Regions from separate parts of the Homo sapiens genome. Here regions 2 and 3 are each linked to region 1. The links are contacts of gene promoters, found by promoter capture Hi-C in blood cells and fetal thymus (Javierre and others, 2016). All regions are on one chromosome and are shown on one strand. The core of a region is centred on a gene start or on the middle of the fragment in contact, and the rest is flanking DNA. Distances in the headings are between cores, read along the strand shown. Region 1 overlaps CLPB (ClpB family mitochondrial disaggregase). Region 2 holds the start of NUMA1 (nuclear mitotic apparatus protein 1). Region 3 holds the start of XNDC1N (XRCC1 N-terminal domain containing 1, N-terminal like).

Region 1 (2,762 bases), core at 170-2,669:
GAACTGCCCAACCATTTTCCAGGGTGGCTTCACCATTTTACATTCCCAAAAGCAACGTGTGAGGGTTCTACCTTTTCCACATCCTCACCAACAATTGTTGTCATCAGTGTTGTCATCACTTACAGCAAACCTAGTGTGTGTGGAGTGGTATCTCATTGTGGTTTTGATTTGCATTTCCCTAATGGCTAATGATGTGAGCATCTTTTTATGTGCTTATTGGCCATTTCTGTATCTTCTTTGGCATTTATTCATTCTTTTTTCTTTTTTTTTTTTTTTTTTTTGAGACGGAGTCTTGCTCTGTCATCCAGGCTGGAATGCAGTGGCGCGATCTTGGCTCAATCCAACCTCTGCCTCCCGGGTTCAAGCGATTCTTCTGCCTCAGCCTCCCAAGTAGCTGGGATTACAGGCACGTGCCACCATGCCTGGCTAATTTTTGTATTTTTGGTAGAGACGGGGTTTCACTATGTTGGCCAGGCTTGTCTCGAACTCCTGACCTCAGGTGATCTGCCTGCCTCAGCCTCCCAAAGTGCTGAGATTACAGGTGTGAGCCACCGCACCCAGCCATTCTTTGGCATTTATTCATTCTTAAGGCCTGTTATGAGCAATTTCTTATTAGGCATTGAGGGGGAGAAAAATGTATCATGATGACCTTTGTCTTTCAAGGAACTTGCGGTCTGGTAAGAGAATTGTAGTTAGTACAGGTGAAAAGTTAGGGCTTCACAGGCAAGGTGGCCTTTAGTTTGGGTCTGGAGATAGGTCGTATTTGTATACAAGGAGCTTTGCAGAAAGACTTTCTGGGCAGTTGGAGTAATGTAAGTAAAGACAATTTGTAATTAGTAGTAGAAAACAGTTTTATCTTCTGATGAGCTCTGAAGCAATAGTGTGAAAGCACCTGGCATAGCACTTGGCACATGATGGGCTGTCATTATGTGTTAGCTCCCTTTGCAACTCCCCTCACTTGGTCCCAGCTCTGTCTTCTAGGACTACATGGCTTCCTTTTCCTGTTCCAGATTTTTAACTCTTAGGAGACAGAGCTCCAAGCTATATGAGCCTTGGTTCCCTAAACTGTGGTTTCAAGTCTCCTCCTCATCCTAGTCATTTTAAAATGAAACAGCTAGAAAGTTTTGGTGCCCTCTCTGAATTCCAGTGTGGCATGACCATTATTGTGAGGAGCAGGGCAACCATCCCCTTTGTTAAAGATTTTATACTTCTATTAATATGGCCCGACCTTGCATTGGCTTTCTTGGCAGCTGCGTTACACTCCTAGGTTCTGTTAAGCTTGTAATCGGCCCAGCCTTCTGAGATCCATGACTTCTTCTGTCCTGTAACCCTTTGATTGGATTTGTTTGCAGAGCTTGTTTTAACCTAAAGGTAAGGACACTTTAAGGCTTTGTATTTGCTTGTGAATTTGTAATATTTGAAATGTGAATATGTACTATGTGAAAGTAGTGGTGGTGGTATGGAGACTACCAGAAAGAAGAAAGGATAGGCTTGGAATGTTCTCAGCATGCGACTAGAAGGAACTAGAACTTCCAAGAGAGAAGGTTCTAGGAAGCTTCAGGACTAAACAGAAAGTATCTTCACCCCTCAAGTAAACTCCTTTCCACTTGAGGCTTTTCCTTATTTTCTGTCAGCTGATTGGTCCCATCAGACAACTATGGTGTGCTGACGCATGCTAAATCTGGGAAAGAAGGGAAGAATTGGGCATATGAGCCCTGGAAGGCAGTGTGGCTCCATAGAGCTTGGGCTTCATCCCCGGCTGCTACTTATTGGCCTTGTAATCTTTCTTTTTCTTTTTTTTTGAGACGGAGTCTCACTCTGTCGCCAGGCTGGAGTGCAGTGGTGCGATCTTGGCTTACTGCAACCCACGCCTCCCGGGTTCAAGTGATTCTCCTGCCTCAGCCTCCTGAGTAGCTGGGATTACAGGTGCCTGCCACCATGCCTGGCTAATTTTTGTATTTTTAGTAGAGATAGGGTTTCACCATGTTGGTCAGGCTGGTCTTCAACCTCTGACCTTGTGATCCACCCACCTCGGCCTCTCAAAGTACTGGGATTACAGGCGTGAACCACCGTTCCCAGCCTGGCCTTGTAATCTTAATCAGTCATTTACCCTCTGTAAGACTTGGGCTTCTTTCAGAGGATCAAATGAGATCATAAATGTCAAGTATCTGTTGCGTAGTAGGCAGCTCAAGAAATGTGAGCTCTTTTGAACTCCATCATTCAAGAGCTTTGCAAGGCGGTGAGTTGTGCTCCCTGAGCCTGTGTAAACATCTCTGAGCACCTGTGATACTTAGTGCACTTATTTGTGCGCTTGTTTCATTTTCCCTCCTCCAGCTCAGAATAAGAGCTCCTTGTAGGCAAGATTCATGTCTGATTGACTTCGGTGTCTGTCAATGCCCAACACAGAGGCTAGCTTGGAGATGTTACTTCAGTTTTGTTGAGTGAGTGAAGGCCACACCTTTGCCCGAGGAGGCCAGGTTTTATGGTTGGCTTTTCATTGTCTCTTCTTTACTGGAAATTTTGTGAGATTCCTGAACTTCACAGAAGGTGGCTCAAGTACCAACACTGTTTCACTGTTTGAGAAATTTGAACCACTTTTGTGTCTCACTGCTGTAGTGTGACAGGTTTCCTGGCAGCCAGCCAGGAGGCCTGCTGTGGGGCCAGTAGGTGGCGCCTATGACCCTTTCCCACACCTCAGGTCCTGCACAGGCCTTTCCTTCTCACCACCACAGCTGCTGACTCTCTGGGAAATGCATATATTA
Region 2 (2,790 bases), core at 84-2,583, 340 kb after region 1:
GAGTATCAAAAGAGAGACTGTGAAAGCACTGGGTAGGTTACTAAATGTAATAGATCTGTCGTGAGTACTAAAAAAAATGAAGCTCTAACTGTAGAGCTTTGAGTAGCGGACCACGGAGAAGGTGTGGGGAGAAAAGGGAATCTGGGGACAGATTGAGAAGGGGTTTTACTCCTTGGAAGAAGAAGGAATGAGGCACTTCACGCCCCAGGAAGTTTCCTACATCTCTAGAATTAGGGTAGCGACTGCGATTTACTCAATCTAATGCTAACCGCATGTCTTGGAAGAGGGTCTCAGTTCCTCAGAGGAAAACCAACCCCATTTCTGAGGGCGTTTCTGATCTCCCAGGTTATGCCTGGAACTTGAAGCATCCGATTTTGGGAGCTTTATGTTTGCGTTGGGGGCGGGGTTCGTTGTTTTGTTTTGTTTTTGTTTTGTTTCGTTTTGTTTTGTTTTGAGATGGAGGTATCGCTCTATAGCCCAGGCTGGAGTGTAGTTGCGTGATCACGGCTCACTGCAGCTTCAATCTCCGGGCTCAAGCGATCCTTCTACCTCAGCCTCCCTAGTAGCTGGGGCCACTGGAGCGCGCCACCAAGCCCGGCTAATTTTTTTATGTTTTTGGTAGAGACAGGGTTCGCCATGTTTCTCAGGCTGGTCTCGAACTCCTGGCCTTAAGTGGTCCGCCCGCCTTGGTCTCCCAGTGTTGGGATTACAGGCGTGAGCCACCGCTCCCGGCCCTGGGGGTGGTTCTTAAGCATCCCCAAATCTGTATGGATATATATCTCAACGCCTATCCCTCCCTCTGCTCCCCCTCGCCCAGTCTGTCCCATGTGAGTGTTGTATCTTGTTCGCTGTGAAAGGTGATGAGGGTCGGTGGGGGAAATCTCAGATCCCCGAGCAGGAAGGTTCTTAGTCGTTCTGTGAGTGCCCCTCCCTTCTCCATAGATCTCTTGTCCCCTAGAACGGGTTTCCTGTTTTCCCGCCCGACTCACCCGCAGTCGCTTCCTCTCCAGTCTTGGCGTCCCACTGCCTCAGGGTTACTCAGAGCAACTCCATGGCAACTGCTTTCGTCACCACAACCCGGCAGGCGCCATAAGTACTGACGCGATGCTTACCGGGACCTTCAGTTTGTCAGGGGCGGGGCTTCAAGGCCGCGGGTGACGCTGGGATTTGTAGTTCTCTTTGCCTTCAAGTACAGGCCGGGGTCCGGAAGCGGTGATACCCCTTCTCTTTCCCAGTGGCCCTCAAACTTCCTTTTCCCGGGTCCTTAAGCGGGCCCCGCCGACAGAGGCCAATCAGAGGGCAGCGCGAGGGGGCGGGGCCATAGTTTAAACTAATTGTGCGCTCACAGCGCTGGCGCGAGCCCACGAAGAGGTACGATTCCGGAGAATCGCGAGGCAGAGCGGGAGCGCGCAGCCAGGTAACCGGCGCGGGCCCGCGTTTGGCGTGCGGCCTGGGCACCCCTGCGGGTGCTCAGGCCTAAAAGGGGTGCTGGAGAGGCCGCTGCGAGCGGAAGGCCTCCTCCATAACCGAGTCCGAAAGGGCAGAATCTATGGGGGTAAGGTTTGTGAGGAGAGGCGCCTGAGAGGGAGGAGCCGGGGGGGGGGGGGGTGCCTTAAAGGGGAGGGTCTGTTTGGGGGCGTGTCTGTGGAATTAAATCTGAAGGTGACTGGGGTCGGGGGTATAGGGCAAGTTCCCGAAAGGCTTGTAAGCGAGGGGTCGGGTCCTGGAAAGTCTTTGCCTTTTATCGTTAACAATAGCAGTAGTTATGGTAGTGCAGTAGTCAGCATTTTCTGAGCTACACCGTCCACAATGACCTGCCAAATGTTTATCTTTTTAATCTTCTAACCACCTGTTATACTTTAAAGATGGGGAGCCTGAGGTTTATAATGTTTAGCTTGGCCCGGGTTACGTAGCCAGTGCGAGGTTGGCTCTACTTTGGGTTTATGGGTTGGGCATAAATGGGGACGGGGAAGGTGCTTTGTGGGGGCGCGCGTTGTCTTGGACTGGTCAGTGTATTTTGAGCCTCACTTTTCATATATGTAAACAATGACCTTACCTGCCTTACCTACTTCCTGGGGTGGTTGTCCTGGTCAAAACAGGTTAAGTCTTTTTTTTTTTTTTTTTTAATTTTTGTTTGTTTTTGTTTTTCATCCATGGACTCTCACAGATAACATGTTTCATACACGCACCTCGGAGAGTACAAATTTATGACTATAAGTGGTGTGACTGTGTGAAGATTGTGGGTGGGCGGGAGCCCACTGGGTTGATGCTGCCGCCTCTGGGTACTCTCTTTTGCTTACCTCTGAGTTAGCACTTGTCATTTTTTTTTTTTTTTGAGACGGAGTCTCGCCCTATCGCCCAGGCCGGAGTGCAGTGGCGCGATCTCGGCTCACTGCAACCTCTGCCACCCGGGTTCAAACAGTTCCCTGCCTCAGCCTCCCGAGTAGCTGGGATTACAGGCGCCCGCTACCACACCCGGCTAACTTTTGTATTTTTAGTAGACACAGGGTTTCACCATCTTGGCCAGGCCGGTCTTGAACTCTTGACCTCGTGATCCGCCCGCCTCGGCTTCCCAAAGTGCTTGGGATTACAGGCGTGAGCCATCACGCCCGGCCTGCCATCTGGTATTTTAAAAGTCTGCGTGTTTGTCTGCCCTTCTAGATAACGAGAGACTTTTTCGTCACTGTATCCTAATGGCTAGGCAGGATTTGCGACATGTAATGGGAATAAATGTATGCTTTGGAATAATTTCTTGGGCTGAAAGGGCACAGGAATTTCGCTTTCCCGTTT
Region 3 (2,782 bases), core at 168-2,667, 490 kb after region 1:
TAAAGGGAACATACAATCTCAAGGAGCTCACCTTCAAGGAACTCATAAATCCAGAAGAAGAGAGAGACACTTATTTATCGTTTAAAACTCAGCAACTCCGGGAAGCCTTCCCTATCCCAAGCTGAAATGTTGCACACTTCTCAGTGCCACCATTATATCTCTAATGCAATGACTAGTCTTCTTGTCTGTCTCCCACCACTAGACTGTGGGCTCTTCAACGGAGGGGCCCCTTGTCTCCCTAGCACCTGGCCCAGAACCCGGAGCAAAAGTCATAATGTTTATTAAGTGAATAAATGCATGAATTCCGGCATACAATCATTTATTCATCCACTTGTTCCTTCATTCGTTGGCCAAAACTTTACTGAGCATGCATTAGATACAAAGTCTTAGAATGGAACGATAAATAAAACAGTTCCAACTTTAAGATAACTCAAAGCTATACTACTAGTGGATTAGCACTCTTTCCCGGTCTGTGTCCCCAACCCCCACCCTAGGCTTAGACAGAGTCCTCTCCCACAGTAGAAGCCCAGCCTTCCCCTGAAGAAATTCACGTCCCTCCAACTCAAACTACCTCTTAGCCCTTCGGTCCTACCCTAAGACACCCAGCTAGTAATCACAAAATCTTAACACCCCCACCCCTCCGACCTCTCTCTCTGTCCTCCATCTTCACCCTTGAGGCTAATGCAAGTCTTCTACTCCCAAGGCCGCCTCGGAGTCCCCAAGTCAGGAGTGCCTCTGACTTCGCTCTCCACGCACCCGCCCCCTAGTCAGCTCCTTCCCTCTCAGGATCTTTCCCTTCTCTCCTAAGACCCCCACCTCCCGATACCTCACTGCCCCTCCCCTCAGTCTCAGGTTGAGTCTCTCCTCGTCTCTCAACTCCGCTTACCTCATCCAGCTCCCGTTCCCCAGCAGCACCACCTCCAACCTCCACCTCCACCACTGCCGCCATCTTCACGGCTCGCCCCCTCACCGCAGTCCCCGCGCGAGCCAGCTGCTTCCGCTGCTCAAGTGCTCCTAGCCAATCGGCGGCTCGGACTCCAGCAGAGGGGGCGGGGCATCAACACAGGCGGAGACTGTCAGGGATCAGGAGGTTATCTACTTGCTGCACGTTTCAGGGTCAAGGAGAGGGGAGTACCGTGCCCTTGCAAGCTTCAGCAAGGGAGCGTTCTTGGAAAATGAGAAATTTGAATCGCATTATTTTCAGTGCAACTATTTAACCAATTCTTCCCTTTGGAGAGCCAAATGGGAGCGTTCCAAAACGGGCAACTTTCGCGACGCTCCCTCAGTCTGGGCTCCAAGGAGCGAGACGTGGGGACTAGGAACTACGTTTCCCAAGCTGCACTGAGGCTGACCCGGAAGTTTAAATTCCGCTCCCTCCACGAAAGAGTTGTAGTGAGTGAAAATAAATATTAAAACACACGGAAATGTATTTTCCTGGCTGCAGCACCTGCCATCTTGCCTCGGTAGGACTCATTTTCAAAAACAGCAGCTTCTTGAAGCCCCAGAACGCATTCCTGTGCTACGGAAGACGGAAGAGTAGCTCTCGGGGTCAGAAGGCGAAGGTCAGAAGGCCGAATTGGCGGGAGAATAGGTTTGGTGGTCCGAGATCCGAGGCAACGGTGGCTCCTCGAGGTCCACGGTCCCGGGTGAGGGGCGTTGGGATTTGTTGATGGGGAGGGGAGTGGCCGAGAGGGAGGAGGGTGGCCATCAAGGAAATGAACTGAGCAGCCTGTTCCCGATGAGCTGTGAAAGCAGCGGTGCGGCTTGAGCTCCCGAAACTGAGAGCTGAAGAGCCTTGCGGGACCTCCAGGGCACCCACATTCCGCGTCTTACTTAGGCTGTCATGCCAGTTCACACACCTCGGCACACTTTTCTAACCCACATCCTGCGGCCCCAGCTTCTGCCTTACCCTCCTTTTTATACACCATTCACTGTCCCACCCCTACGTATACCTTCATAACTGATTTTTCAGCAGCCGGTGAACTCGATACCTTGCAAGCCTGTAGCCCCAGCTCACACGCCTCTGGGCGTCCGCCTGGATCTGTCTGGTGAATGGAACTAGGATGGCCTGTGAGCCCACAGAACGTCTAGAAAAGTCAGCTTTACATTGGGACCAACAGAAAATTACAGGGAATTATCTACATCATCCACAGGCATCCCATTTACTTAAAAATAATCATTTTTATTTTGTGACACTTAATACGGAGAATATTGTAAATACTGTACACCCATCACCCTAAATTGACTACTGGCATTATGATTTATTTGCTTATTTTTTAAAAGCTAGATAATACAATAAAAGTTAAACTTACCTGTTTTTTCTACTCTCAAGCCTATTACCCTCTCATCCTCTCCAGAAGCAACTATTATGAATTAGAATTAGCTTGTGTTCTCCCAGTCCATTTTTAATAATTATATGTAGCCATGACTATATAGTATTGTATTGTGTTTCATTTTGTTTTTTAATCTGAGTGCTTTTTTTTTTTCTTTGAAACGGTGTCTCGCTGTGTTACCAAGGCTGGAATGCACTGGTTCAATCTGGGCTCACTGCAGCCTCCGCCTACTGGGTTCAAACGATTCTCATGTCTCAGCCTCCCAAATAGCTGGGACTACGTACGCGCCACCACGCCTGGGGAAATTTCATATTTTTAGCAGAGATGGGGTCATGGCCATGGTCTCGAACTCCTGACCTTAAGTGATCCACCCGCCTCGGCCTCCCAAAGTGCTGGGATTACAGGTGTGAACCACTGTGCCCAGCCTGAGTGATACAGGGTCCGGCTCT

What was found. The method cuts DNA at HindIII sites, captures the fragments that hold promoters and counts their contacts. A CHiCAGO score of 5 or more calls a contact.
Region 2: the fragment with the promoter of NUMA1 here is called in contact with a fragment that was not itself captured in region 1 in 10 of 17 cell types (erythroblasts, fetal thymus, total B cells and 7 more); the score reaches 9.6 in erythroblasts.
Region 3: a contact is called between the fragment with the promoter of XNDC1N here and a fragment that was not itself captured in region 1, in 1 of 17 cell types (total B cells). The highest score is 5.3, in total B cells.

What each region holds. Positions count from the first base shown.
Region 1 is chr11:72,414,255-72,417,016 of GRCh38, reverse strand. All of the region lies in intron 2 of CLPB (ClpB family mitochondrial disaggregase), which reads left to right. Among named protein-coding and RNA genes, the nearest start is that of CLPB, 19 kb to the left of the region's middle. RefSeq lists an enhancer at 2,742-2,762. The HindIII fragment of the contact is 277 bases long and covers 1,281-1,557 here.
Region 2 is chr11:72,079,085-72,081,874 of GRCh38, reverse strand. NUMA1 (nuclear mitotic apparatus protein 1) reads left to right here and starts at 1,333. Exons shown (of 27, transcript NM_006185.4): 1 at 1,333-1,417. It overlaps LRTOMT (leucine rich transmembrane and O-methyltransferase domain containing), which reads right to left and starts at 1,025. Exons shown (of 9, transcript NM_001145310.4): 1 at 990-1,025. LRRC51 (leucine rich repeat containing 51) reads right to left here and starts at 1,025. Exons shown (of 6, transcript NM_145309.6): 1 at 990-1,025. RefSeq lists enhancers at 12-966, 978-1,247, 967-1,922. The HindIII fragment of the contact is 5,366 bases long and covers 1-2,790 here.
Region 3 is chr11:71,927,229-71,930,010 of GRCh38, reverse strand. XNDC1N (XRCC1 N-terminal domain containing 1, N-terminal like) reads left to right here and starts at 1,417. Exons shown (of 6, transcript NM_001375847.2): 1 at 1,417-1,646. RNF121 (ring finger protein 121) reads right to left here and starts at 965. Exons shown (of 9, transcript NM_018320.5): 1 at 887-965. The coding sequence starts at 949. XNDC1N-ZNF705EP-ALG1L9P (XNDC1N-ZNF705EP-ALG1L9P readthrough) reads left to right here and starts at 1,417. Exons shown (of 11, transcript NR_172895.1): 1 at 1,417-1,646. RefSeq lists an enhancer at 1,275-1,584. The HindIII fragment of the contact is 13,024 bases long and covers 1,152-2,782 here.